Linked DNA regions of Homo sapiens: region 1 is linked to region 2. The links are contacts of gene promoters, found by promoter capture Hi-C in blood cells and fetal thymus (Javierre and others, 2016). All regions are on one chromosome and are shown on one strand. The core of a region is centred on a gene start or on the middle of the fragment in contact, and the rest is flanking DNA. Distances in the headings are between cores, read along the strand shown. Region 1 overlaps REV3L (REV3 like, DNA directed polymerase zeta catalytic subunit). Region 2 holds the start of SLC16A10 (solute carrier family 16 member 10).

Evidence for each region. Contacts are between HindIII fragments. The CHiCAGO score rates a contact against its expected background, and 5 or more counts as called.
Region 1: a contact is called between a fragment that was not itself captured here and the fragment with the promoter of SLC16A10 in region 2, in 6 of 17 cell types (fetal thymus, activated CD4 T cells, non-activated CD4 T cells and 3 more). The highest score is 7.6, in fetal thymus.

Annotation. Positions count from the first base shown.
Region 1 is chr6:111,475,874-111,481,660 of GRCh38, reverse strand. The region is part of intron 1 of REV3L (REV3 like, DNA directed polymerase zeta catalytic subunit); the gene reads left to right. Among named protein-coding and RNA genes, the nearest start is that of REV3L, 4.5 kb to the left of the region's middle. RefSeq lists enhancers at 2,295-3,019, 3,617-4,509. The HindIII fragment of the contact is 2,284 bases long and covers 607-2,890 here.
Region 2 is chr6:111,085,126-111,091,644 of GRCh38, reverse strand. It overlaps SLC16A10 (solute carrier family 16 member 10), which reads right to left and starts at 4,142. Exons shown (of 6, transcript NM_018593.5): 1 at 3,550-4,142. The coding sequence starts at 3,892. It also overlaps the pseudogene RNU6-960P. RefSeq lists silencers at 3,572-3,751, 3,782-4,461 and an enhancer at 3,259-3,759. The HindIII fragment of the contact is 14,016 bases long and covers 868-6,519 here.

The DNA.
Region 1 (5,787 bases), core at 499-2,998, 390 kb before region 2:
TTTTAGATAGCATTTCCCACTTGATGCTCCTTGCCCTCATCACCATTCATCTTATTACTACAGTCAGTTTCTGTGGACTACCAAGATAATAGCGCTTTCCCAAACACAAGCACTCATTTTAAAGCAGTTATCTTTTAATGTGAATTCTCTTTGTTAAAATGTCAATGTTGTGAGATTTGGTAGCATATTCCTATTTAAACTAGTGAATATGATTTTGATATGAACCTTGAAAGATGGGGAATTTGAGTGCTTTTAACGTGTTGAAAGTGTAACACTTGAAACTTTGGAGGCTGGGAAATCGAGGCGATGAAGTGTTCTATAAGATAGGTTTTCTGCCCTTTTAAATATAGTGGTGCTGTCTTTGTTTCCAATTGGAATTTCAGTGTAATGCACTGTTCTCACTTCAGATGCAGAGGAAGGATAAAATAGTGAAGTTGATATGGCCCTGTTCAGCCAAATTTCCGAATCATAAAGTGACATGCTAATAGGATATACTGTGGCATTTCTGTGTATTACAGCTTGTATGGTTTGAGTTACTTTTCCACACATAATTTTTTCTCCTCCACACAAGTCATTAAATATGTTTTCCTGAGAGATAGTCAAGCTTTGTTGTATAGGAAAGTTTCGTTTGTGGAAATAAATGAGTTTCACTGTAAGCTAATGTAATTCTATTACGTGAGGAAATGTTCCTTAAAAAATAAAGAATATTATATACTGTTGTTTTCCTGAATATTTTTTAAAAGACACATTAACTATTTCCTATTTAATCCTTCATGGACATCCCACAATAGATTACCAGCACCTTAAAAAAAAAAAAAAAAACAAAAACGAAAAAACCAAAGACTAAAAACCCCCATTGGGGTTTTTTTTTTGGTACATACTTTGAAATTTATATTTTAAATGAATTAAAAAGTAACACTTTTTATATGTACATTGAAAGACATAAAACTTGATACAGAGAAAGTCAAATTTTAAATTGTTAAGGATTATCAAATTGAATTTGCCATGTAGTTCACAGTTTCCAACAAAATGTTTGTTTCAACAAGAAAAAATTTGAAGTCATTGGCATACATTTAGAGTTTACACTTTTCATAAACCAAGCCAGCATTTTTATTAGCACGTCAGAAACTCCCAGTGAGATTAATATTAATTAAACATAATCAAAAACTGCAGAATTACCTGCTTTTGAATTATCTCCCCAAGGAAAACTAGTCCAATAAAATAAAACTTGAAAATTATTAATATAAAAGAGAGGCCAGTCTGACTTAGTAAAACTCTGAATGCTAGAATTTTTAATGAAGACAGATTTATTTGAAAGTAAAGATGTAAACATAATGCAAAGATATAAACATGGTTTGTATTATATCTTTATAGTTTATATCTTTACTAACAAGTAAAATAAGGTAATAAAAATGTGTAACACATGATAAACCTATGCTACATAAAATAGCATAAACATACTTTTTTCATATATAAGAATTACTTTGGGAGGTCCTTAATGCTTTACTTTGGTTTGGAGAGAAAATGTTTTAAAATTGACTTTGCTTTACAAATGAGATCCTGAAAAATAGCAACCAAAGATATTTTTTCTCAAATGAAGTGGCCGTTTCAAAATTATATTACAAATTCTGAACTGATTGGATTAATACCCTTTTACTAGTTTAGTTTTTCTATTATTGCCTGAAAAGCATTTTTCTGCTTTAGAAAACAGTCCAGTTGACTTTTGATTGTTCTGTGTTTTGAGGACGTATCTTGAGTAATTTAAGAAATAAAGTGTTTTGGGTTTAAAAGCTCCCATGTCTTAAGTTGGTGAAATTTGAAAAGGTATTTTTAAAAAGAGGGATATTCAGGGCTGGGTGCTGTGGCTCATGCCTGTAATCCCAACACTTTGGAAGACAGAGGCAGGAGGATCGCTTGAACCCAGGAGTTGGAGACCAGCCTGGGCGACATAGTCTGTACAAAACAAACAAACAAACAAACAAAATTGGCTGGGCGTGGTGGTGTGCACCTGTAGTACTAGCTATTTGGAAAGCTGAGACAGGAGAATCGCTTCAGCCCAGAAGGTTGAGGCTGCAGTGAGCCAAGATCACGCCACTGCACTCCAGCCTGGGCAACAGAGCAAGAGCCTGTCTTAAAAAAAAAAAAAAAAAAGGCGGGGGGGGATATTCAGATTTGAATGGTAAATCCTGACTGATTTAATCCCTTGCCAACTGAGGATATTGATTCCTAAGGGAATCACTTAAAGTTTCTTCATCTGAGTTATGGAATTTTTTAAAAAACAAAAACAAATTTCCTCTCCATTTTTTTAACTAGTTTTTAAAATGTCTTGAACATTATTTTGACATAATCAAATTGAGCAGTATCATTTGTAGAATAAATTGTTAATTTTTTCTTTTAGAACAACATTTTGGTAACTTGTTTTAATGGAGGGAAGAAAGGTTGTGAATAAAGTATAGGACAATGTTTTTTCATTTAGATTTGAATATAGGTGTGACCACTCAGAGGATTCACTACAAATGAAATCATCAGGCTTCATTTAAGGATTTGACTGAGGTGGACTTGGGAAGCTGTCCATTTTCCACATCTCGACTTTTGCTTAGTTGCTTGATGTAACTCACTTCATGCTGAGTTTAGACAGCTCTCACAGTTTCCTCAGCACCAGGTTAAACAGAACTATCCTTTCAAAGAGCTTCCCTGCTGAGATGCAGAGTAGGAGTAAATAGAAGAGTGTGGGATGTCCACAAAGCAAGGAATTAAACAAAGTAGGCCAGACAGACTATAGAGGGAGCTGCTTGTCTTTAAGATTACTCTAAGGAACTCTGCCACTTCCTCTAGCTTAGTGAATATTTTGGTAGATTGTTCTAGATACTGTTAGCCATGAAATCAAGCTTTTCAACATAAGGAATTGATAATTCTGAAATGCTATATAAGTTTATGTAGATGCTTATCCAATTATAAATATATTCTCATTGTTTATATTTTATAAAATTAAATATAAGAAACTACCAGAATAACCTTTTTTTTTTTTTTTGGTAAATTGGAGTTAAATTTGCAATAAGAATAATTTTGAAAATTAGCGTGTATCAACAACTCAGGTTCAAAAGTTTCTCTAATAGAATCTGCTTTGTTCATAGTCTGTTTTTTACTAAGCTATTTAAAAATATTTTAAGATCATATAACACCTATTTGATTACAATTATTGGAGAGATTTTCAGGAACGCTATGGAGATGTAATGACTCATCACAAACAAATTGGTCACTTTTTTTAAAGTAGGTATTTGAAGCCCTGAGTAGCAAGTTGTTTTAGCTTTAAGTGCCTTAAGAACAGCTTTACTCTCCAGAAGCTCACAATGTAGTAGAGATGATGGGCATGTAAACGTAAGTCAAATGCAGTATGACTGGACTATAGAAATGTGTATAAGACAAAGCAAGGATTCATTGGGAGACATGTTCTATATCCAGGCAAAAAGGGGAGTCAGGGAAGACTTCGTGAAGGAAATATGGATTAGTCATGTTAAAGGAATTTTTAAGGAACTTAAAATTTCAGATAGAGGAACAGCTACAAGGTAATTGACAGATGAAGACAACTGCTCTTTGCAGGGCAGTTTGGCAATGTATATTAGAATCCTTGAAGTGTTCTTTTTTGACCCAGTAATTCTAGTTTTAGGGATTTTAATCTATGAGCATAAATCTTTTGGCAAATCTGGTTGTCTTTTGAATCCGTCTACTTCTTTTCATAATCCATCACCACCCTAAACTACTAGCATTTTTGGTCAGGTTTACTACAGTAGCCTCCTAATCTTGGTTTATCCCAATCTACTTTGTCCCCTTCTGATCTGTTTCCTACACTGTAATCAGAGGGATCTTTTAAAAATGCAAACCTGATTACATCACCCTACTGTTTGATATGCTTCAGTAGCTTTCCATTGCATTCAGGATATGGACAGAACTCTGTGTCTTATATGGTGGCATCTGCCTGTCTTACAAGGTCTTGCATAGTCTGGCCCTTACCTTTCTGTCTAGTCATGACTTGAGCCATGTTCTTGACTTACTCTTTTTGTTCCAGCCTTGTTGGCCTTATCTCAGTCCCTTGTTCTTGCCATGCTCCTTCCCACAGTGAGGGCTTTGTACCTGCCGTTGCCCCTGCTGAGAATGTTTTTACTTTTCTTTCACCTAAACTTCGATTTATCTTTCCTCAGGGAAGGCTTCCCTATCACAGACTCTCAGAGCACCATGAACTCTCCTCATAGCACTTGCTGTCATTGTAATTTCATATGTGTTGGAGATTAACATCTGTTTTTCCAAATAGATTGTAACCTCCAGAAATCCTGATAATGTGTTTCTTTTTCCTCACCATTATAGAGTTAATGCTTACCACAGTGCTTGAAACTCGTCTATTAATTCTTGGAACTCATTTGTGGCAAGGATTAATAAATAGATGATAATCATCACAGAGAACAACTCTAAGTGTTCAACAATTGGCAAATGGTTGCATAAACTGGGTATATTCATTTGGGAGGATGTGTTTAAAACATGTTGTAGAAGTATGTGTAATAACATGGGAAAGTGCTGTCATATTATGTGAAAAAATTAGTTTACAAAATAGTCACTTATTAAAAGTGTGGAAAAAAATACACCGAAGTATAAAAGTTGGTTATCTCTGGAAGGTATGTTTTATATTTTCAGATTTTTTACAGATAACATGTGCTGATTTTATAATTTAAAAAAACCATGTACAAAATTAAGGAAAAATTGATTTTCTAGATATGGTTCCAGAAATGTAGTGGGAGACATGAGATTCGTAATGGTCTCCAAAATATGTGTCAACCAAAATGCATGATTGCATGATGATCATATTGAACTTAATTATATAAATTCCATTTAGAAATTGCAAAATGATTCATAAATTAAAGCAAGCCAGTAATTTCTGGTTGTATTATTCTTACTTGTATGTAAAGTGGTTTTAATTTTAAAATGTTTTGAAAAGTAACATGGTTTTGGCACATGACAGCACTAAAACAGAGTAAAGACTAGAATTAACTTAAATATATATGAGAGCTTAATATAGGTTGAGCATCCCTTATCTAAAACTCCATAATCTGAAATCCTTCAAAATCTGAAATGTTTTGAACACCAACATGATGCCACAAGTAGAAAATTCCACACCTGACCTCATGATGGGTCGCAGTCAAAACTTCGTTTCAGGCTGGATGCAGTGGCTCATGTCTGTAATCCCAACACTTTGGGAGGCTAAGGTGGGAGGATTGCTTCAGCCCAGGAGTTCAAGACCAGCCTGGGCAACATGGAAAGACGCTATCTCTACAAAAAAATACAAAAGTTAGCCAGGCAGGGTGGTACACGTTTGTGGTTCCAGCTACTTGGGAGGCTGAGGCAGGAGGATCGCTTGAGCCCAGGAGGTGAAGGCTGCAGTGAGCCATGATTGTATGACTGCATTCCAGCCTGGGTGACAGAGCAAGTCCCTGTCTCAAAAACAATCAAAACAACTTTGTTTCATGTGTAACATTATTTAAAATTATATAAAATTACATTCAGGTTTGGTCCCATCCTCAGGATATCTCATGTATGTGCAAATATTCTAAAATCTGAAACACTTCTGGTCCCAAGCATTTCAGATAAGGGGTATTCAACTTGTATATGAAAATGGATCCCACCTTCATTTATGAGTAGGGAAAAGAAGAATTGTTTAATAAACAGTGTTGGGATAGCCAGTTAGTCATCTGGAAAAATAATGTTGGCTTCCAGAGGAGTTAAAGATTTAAATATGAA
Region 2 (6,519 bases), core at 2,893-5,392:
CTGTGGATCAATCTAAAAGTTCTTCAAAGGAAACCCCAGACTTTTGCTTGAACGGCATATGGAAGTATCTTGTTCTTCTATGGAAGTCTCTCTACACTTCAGAAATATAGTTTGAGACATTAATAATTTGCAATTGTTTATTCACCACAAAGTAGGACCAAGAAACAGGGACCCTTCTTTCTAATCCCAGAATGCATGGTAGAGCACTCAACCAATCACTAACACTTAAATTAATCAACAACATAAAAAACATCGTATTTGCAGAATGTTATCTAGTCAATGCAATATGATGAATGATTAAAACCCAGCTCCTGGTGCTTGCTTCAGCAGCACTTTGAACAACAATCTACTAAAATTGGAATGACACAGAGAAGATTAGCGTGACCCCTGAACAAGGATGACATGCAAATTCATGAAGCATTCCATATTTTAAATAAATAAATAATTAAAATAAAAATCCCAGCTCTTAGAGTCAGATAAGCCTGGGGTTGAATTCTGGCTCCACTTCTTACTTAAACTCTGTAAGCCTGAGTTCCCATATCTGAAAAGAAAGATATTAACAAAGTCTATCAGAGAATCGTGGTAAGGTTTAAATAGGAACGCATCTAAAGTGCTTAGCCACAGGAAAGTACTCAAGAAATGCGCACCATCATTTGGAGACCTAGATTCCATTCCACCACCACCTCCCTGTATATCCTTAGGCTAGTCACTTGCTATAAAGAAGTAATGGAAACAAGGAGACAGAACTAGCTGTACTCTAACACCAGGATTATCCATCATGAGTACGGTAATAGAAAATAGACCAAAACTTTGAAAAATAAAAGGCTTAAACAAATTCCAGATATTTTTTGGCATGTATTTGAAGCTTGCATATGCTTGATCACAGACGACTCAGCATTCGAATATCAAAGTGAAAAAGTGTGACCAATCAAACTTCAAAGCAGATATTCTCAAATAACAGTGACTGTGGTAGATGAGGGACTTCATGAAACACCTTTGTGTGTGTGTGTGTGCACTGAAGGAAAGAGAAAGGGGTAGGGGACAGGGGAAGAGAGAGAGATCTCAACAATAACTGGCTTAAAGACTATCTTGTAACCATTTTTTCAGCACTAAGTTTAAATCTGTTTTCTTCCTCAGCCCTTAACATCTATCAGTCATATATGTATTACCTAGCACCCAAGTAATGGCCATTGTTCAATCTAGATGCTGTGTTATACAGGGCCATTACAAGTGCATAGGGCCCTTCTGTAGGAATCAGACAAAGGGCACCCAGAGCCCAGGCTGGTTTTCAGTCCCCACTTACCCCTGAGTTGGGCACCCTTGTGCAATGGCACAACCATAAATAGATATACAGCAGTCAGGCAGAGAAACACAAAGATCTTCACACATTTAACTAGCACACCTGTGCAACTGTTTATATGATATATACCCACACATACACAAACATGACTGAAAAAGTTGTCAAAGACTGAACTGAGTAAAAAGAAAAAAGATATTCATCAAAATGGAAAACACAAAGTTCCACAGAGTGCAAAAGAAAAACCAGGTTCCTTCCCTCACTCTCAGCTACCCAGTATTGGGATATTGTGTAGCCAATTAGAACTTTGGGGACAAGTAGTAGGTAGAGACTTTGACACTGCAAAATTCTCATCCCTGGCAAAGCTATGGTCTCTCTGGCAATTGCTCTCTCTCTCTCTCAAAAAAAAAAAAAAAAAAAAAAAAAAAAAAAAAAAAAACCCACCCACAGACACCAAAGGATCTACTTAACTGAATTTGCAAAAACAATGATAAACAAAAGACTGCTGTTATCTTGACTGCATTAAAAAATCTGTAATCCCAGGCAGGAATATGGTAAATGTTGGAACTAGTCTTTAAATGTTAACTCTGTCAATTCTGCCTTCTTTTGGGGCTTTTCTCTCTGACACCCAATACTCATATAGAAAAGACAACAAACTATTTTTGTTTGCTATTATATATGCATATCTCCCCTGCTAAACTTTACAATGATTACTTCCCTTAAATGGTAAGGATATGTTACTACATTTTTAACACTTTTTGTACCTAGCCCATTGACCCGCATACCACAGCAGTTTCAATAGCTATTTAAAGAACAGAAATTCCAGGTTAAAATGGTACCGTATTCACATGCATAACGAGAGTGTACAAGAATATTCATTGCAGCATTGTTTAGAATGAGTTTGGAAGCAATCTAAATGCCCATCAGAGGGAGAATGCATAGAGTATAATATAGTCAAACAATGCAAACCACCTAAGTTAAAATGGAAAGAATTTGAGTTATCAGTTCACACTGAGGTATTATGTGGATAAGTCACAAACATGATGCGGAATGGAAGAAAAGTAAGTTGCAGAATGATACAAATAGTTTAATAGTATTTATGTCAGGTTTTAAAACTCTCAGCATAACCCAGCATTACCTTTGTCTCAGAATTTATTACAGTCTTGCCCATTCCTCATATGCATACTAAAGACCTAAGAAATATTCACTCTAAAAATAATAGAAAATCAAGGTTAAAAAAAAAGACTATTAATCATATAAAGTTACCCCAAATGATGGGGAGGGAGGTTGATTTAGTAATGGAAATCACTTAGCCCTTGAAGTCAGTTGATATGTGTTTTATTGCCATTCTACTACCCACCAAGACACTTTCACTGAGCTACAGTTTTCTCACCCAAATGGGGTTGACCGCGCTCACCTTGCAGGATAAAGTGAAAGAATTTATGTTAAAGTGTCATGCAGAAGGTCTTAGATTTGTTTTTTGCCTAACCAGCCAAAAAGTCATAATAATGCTCTACAGGGAGAAAACGCTGAATCTGCACCTTTTGTATCTAATTTACTATATGGTTAAAAAAAAATGTCAAAAAACACAACAGGAAGAGGGAAGAAGCAACCCTTCACCTTCCTCATCCTAGTCCCTAATCCGGCTGCCTCCCGTGTTTTCTACATTTAACCCAGAGGGCAAAAAAAGGCGGGGGGACGGGAACGCACGGAACCGTGACTCTTGCAGGGCCCCCTTTGGAACTCCAGTGACCTTCGTACAAATCTCTTTCATTCCTCCAAACTCCACCCCCCGCCCCGCCAACATACGCACACCCCTCTGCGGCCCAGGGAGGCAGGTGAAGAACTACATAACTGGCATAGTCACGAAAGAGACCACAAAAATGACAGGGCGATGACTGGGGTTGAAGGTTCTGGGGTTCTGTTTGTTTTCAAACAATAAAAGGAAGGGCTCCTGTGGACTGTTAGCGTCTGCTCTGCTGAGGGGAAAGGAGGACGATCTCGGCAAGTAAGTTCTGCGACCTGCTTGCAAACACACAGCTCTGCAGCTGGATTCCATATAAAGACGGGCACCCCGAGGCCCCAGAAGCGGCAGGCTCTGTCTGCAACTCGAAAGACCCCCCTGCTCGCACCCTCTGGCACAGGGACCCACCGACATGCACACTCGGAGGCAGACACAGCCCACACGCGGGATGCGCTCGGGGGCCCCACGCGGGTCGCCCAGGCTGGCCTCGGCGGGCGCCGCGCCTCACCTGTCTTAAAGACCATCTTGTCATCGTCTTTGGAGCCGAAGGTTTCCAGCATGGACACGAAGAGCACCCCGCAAGCGTTCTGGATGCCGAACACCGACCCGTTGCACCACATGGCCGCCAGCATCACCAGCCAGCCCCAGCCGCCCTCGGGGGGTTCGGGGGGCTCATGGGGCTCCGCGGTCGCCGGCCCCGCCAGCTCCACCTCCACCTTCTCGACAGCCGCCTCGGGGCTGTCCGAGGGTCCCGGGCCGGGCGGCGGAGCGGCCCCCGTGGGCGCGGGGCCGAGCGGCTGCGCCTCGCTCGTGCCCCGCGCGGAGTCCGGCTCCTCCTGGGAGAGCACCATGGCCCGAGGCGGGCCCCTCAGGCGCCGGAGAAGCGCGAGGGACGCGAGTTACCAGCGGGCTCCCGGAGGAGCTGCGGGGCTCCTGGCGGGCTAACGAGGCCGAGGCGAGGGCGGCGGAGCCCCTGGCGGGCGGGCGGGCTGGCAGCGCGCAGGCGGCCAGCGCGCAGGCGGCCGCGAGGACAGCTGGCGCGCGCGAACACCTCGGGGATCGACACTGAAGCCTCTAGGTCACAGCCCCGCACCCCCGACTGAGCCCACTGCCAGCCGCCGGTTCTTAAAAGCACCCCCCGCCCCGCCGGCTGGGGGCGTGGCCGGGAGCGGGACGTGCCCCCACAGCCTCCAGATGATTGGGCCTCGGAGAGCGGAGGCGGGGCGCCCCGCGGCGCGCGGCCCCAGGTGCCCGCGGCAGACGCTGTCTGCGCGCGCGTCTGCGACGGGGCCTCCTCCTGCTCAGAGAGGGGCACAGATGTGTGGGTCACCCCGCCTCAAAGCATGAGCAGAAGGGGCGCGTCTCCTAGGTGCGGGCGCGGTGGGCCTTCAGGAGAGCCACACTGGATCGTTAGCCTCAACTCACCGACACAGCGTCACAGTCACACTAACATTGTCTCGATTGTGTTTGTTTTATGTTTTGGCATTCACCTCTCAGTACTAATTATAATATGTAAGATTCGTTATGCCACCTGGCTTCTTAAATAAGTCATCTGAAGGATCAGAGCCCTTATTTTATTACTTCAGTTCCATTCTCTTGCATTCGTATACAATTTCCTTATGAATATTTGGCACACCAAAGATGCTTATTTTCAGTCCTCACTGGACTGCAATTCCGAAGTCTTCAACCAACAAACATTTTTAACAGACAGCTAGAAAGCATTACTTTTCAACTACATCAGAGTCGTTTTCACTTTAAACAAAAACTAAAACCTGTATTCAACTCCTCTGTCTCCCTGAAGCATGGAGTGCCATCCTATGTAAAAGAAAAGAAGAGTAACCTGCTATGCAATATTGAGGATGCTTCTTAATTTCTGTTATTCGTATTCTTCACTTCAATCAAAGTCAAAATATGCTAGTTACTTGATGTGCCCACCACTGTGATAGAGTACACAGATGAGTGCGATTGATCTCGTTTCTGCCTCTTATCAGTTGATAAACTGGTAGGAAAAAAGAGTCCTGGGAGAGACTAGGAGGCTCAGATGATGTGTTATAATACATGTACAAAAGAGAGAGATGAGATAGTCCCTTAAATTCTCTCCAAACACTGTAGAAGAGCCTCTACAGCAAACAGCCTTTGGCCGAAGCCCTGATTCATACATACGACTTCAGTGGGTCAAGACAGGAAAAGAGCATTCCAGGTAGAGAAAATAGCATAAACTAAGGAAAGCAAGCCGTGCTTGGTTGTGGAATGGGGAACATAGCTCAAGTGTAATCTGCCTTAGAAATGAGGGTAAAATAGTAAACAAAGGAATAGGCACATAAGTGCACAAAAATGTATGTATGAAGATGATACCCCAGTATTGTTGGAAATAAGGAAAATTTGGAAGTATAATGTACATTGGTAGAAGACTGATTAGATACTTACTTTAAAACCTCTAAAAGTTCTGAAGGTCATCTGTATTTATTGACTTTGAAAGTTGTCCACAACATATTATTGGGCAAAGAAAGCACATCGATTATATATTTGCATGCACACAAACAAACACATATGTAAGAATTATCCACGAGTCAGTACTGATGTAAGTAAATGATTAAATAAATAATGAGGAGAGAATAGACAAATCTCTCCTGCAGGAAATGTAAATACTTTATGAACATACTCCCTCCCTCATGGAGGTGAAGTACAATGGTTTACTCTTTAAGTGTGGGTATGCGTAGTAACTTTCTTCCAAAGAGTATAGGATGGAAAGGGGGAGTGGGGGGAAGAAATAACTTTAGGGTGCAAAAAATGGCACACAGTACCTCAACTAGATGATAATGTATCCCCGATATGATGTGATGAAAATGGTACTTTACCTCTGTGGTCTTCCTGCCAAAACCCATAATCCCTGGCTAACCATCAGAAAAACATTAGACAAATCCCAATCAAGGACAGTCTACAAAATACCCATTAAGTACTTTCATTACTGTAAAAGTCATCAAAAACAAGGAAAGTCTGAGAAACTGTCACAGTAAAAAAGAGTCTAAGAGGGCTGGGTGTCGTGGCTCATGCTGGTAATCCCAGCACTTTGGGAGGCCGAGGCGGGCGGATCACTTGAGGTCAGGAGTTCGAGACCAGCCTGGCCAATATGGCGAAACCCCATCTCTACCAAAAATACAAAAATTAGCCAGGCATAGTGGCGTGGGCCTGTAATCCCAGATACTCAGGTGGCTGAGGCAGGAGAATCGCTTGAACCCAGAAGGCAGAGGTTGCAGTGAGCTGAGATCGCGCCACTGTACCCCAGCCTGGGTGACAGTGAGATTCCAACTCAAAAAAAAAAAAAAAAGCCTAAGAGACATGATAACTAAATGTAATGTGATATCCTGGATGGATACTGGAACAGAAAAAGGACATTAGATTAAAAGTAAAGAAATATGAACAAAATGTCGGCTTTAGTTAATAATAATGTATCAACATTGGGTCATTAATTGTAACA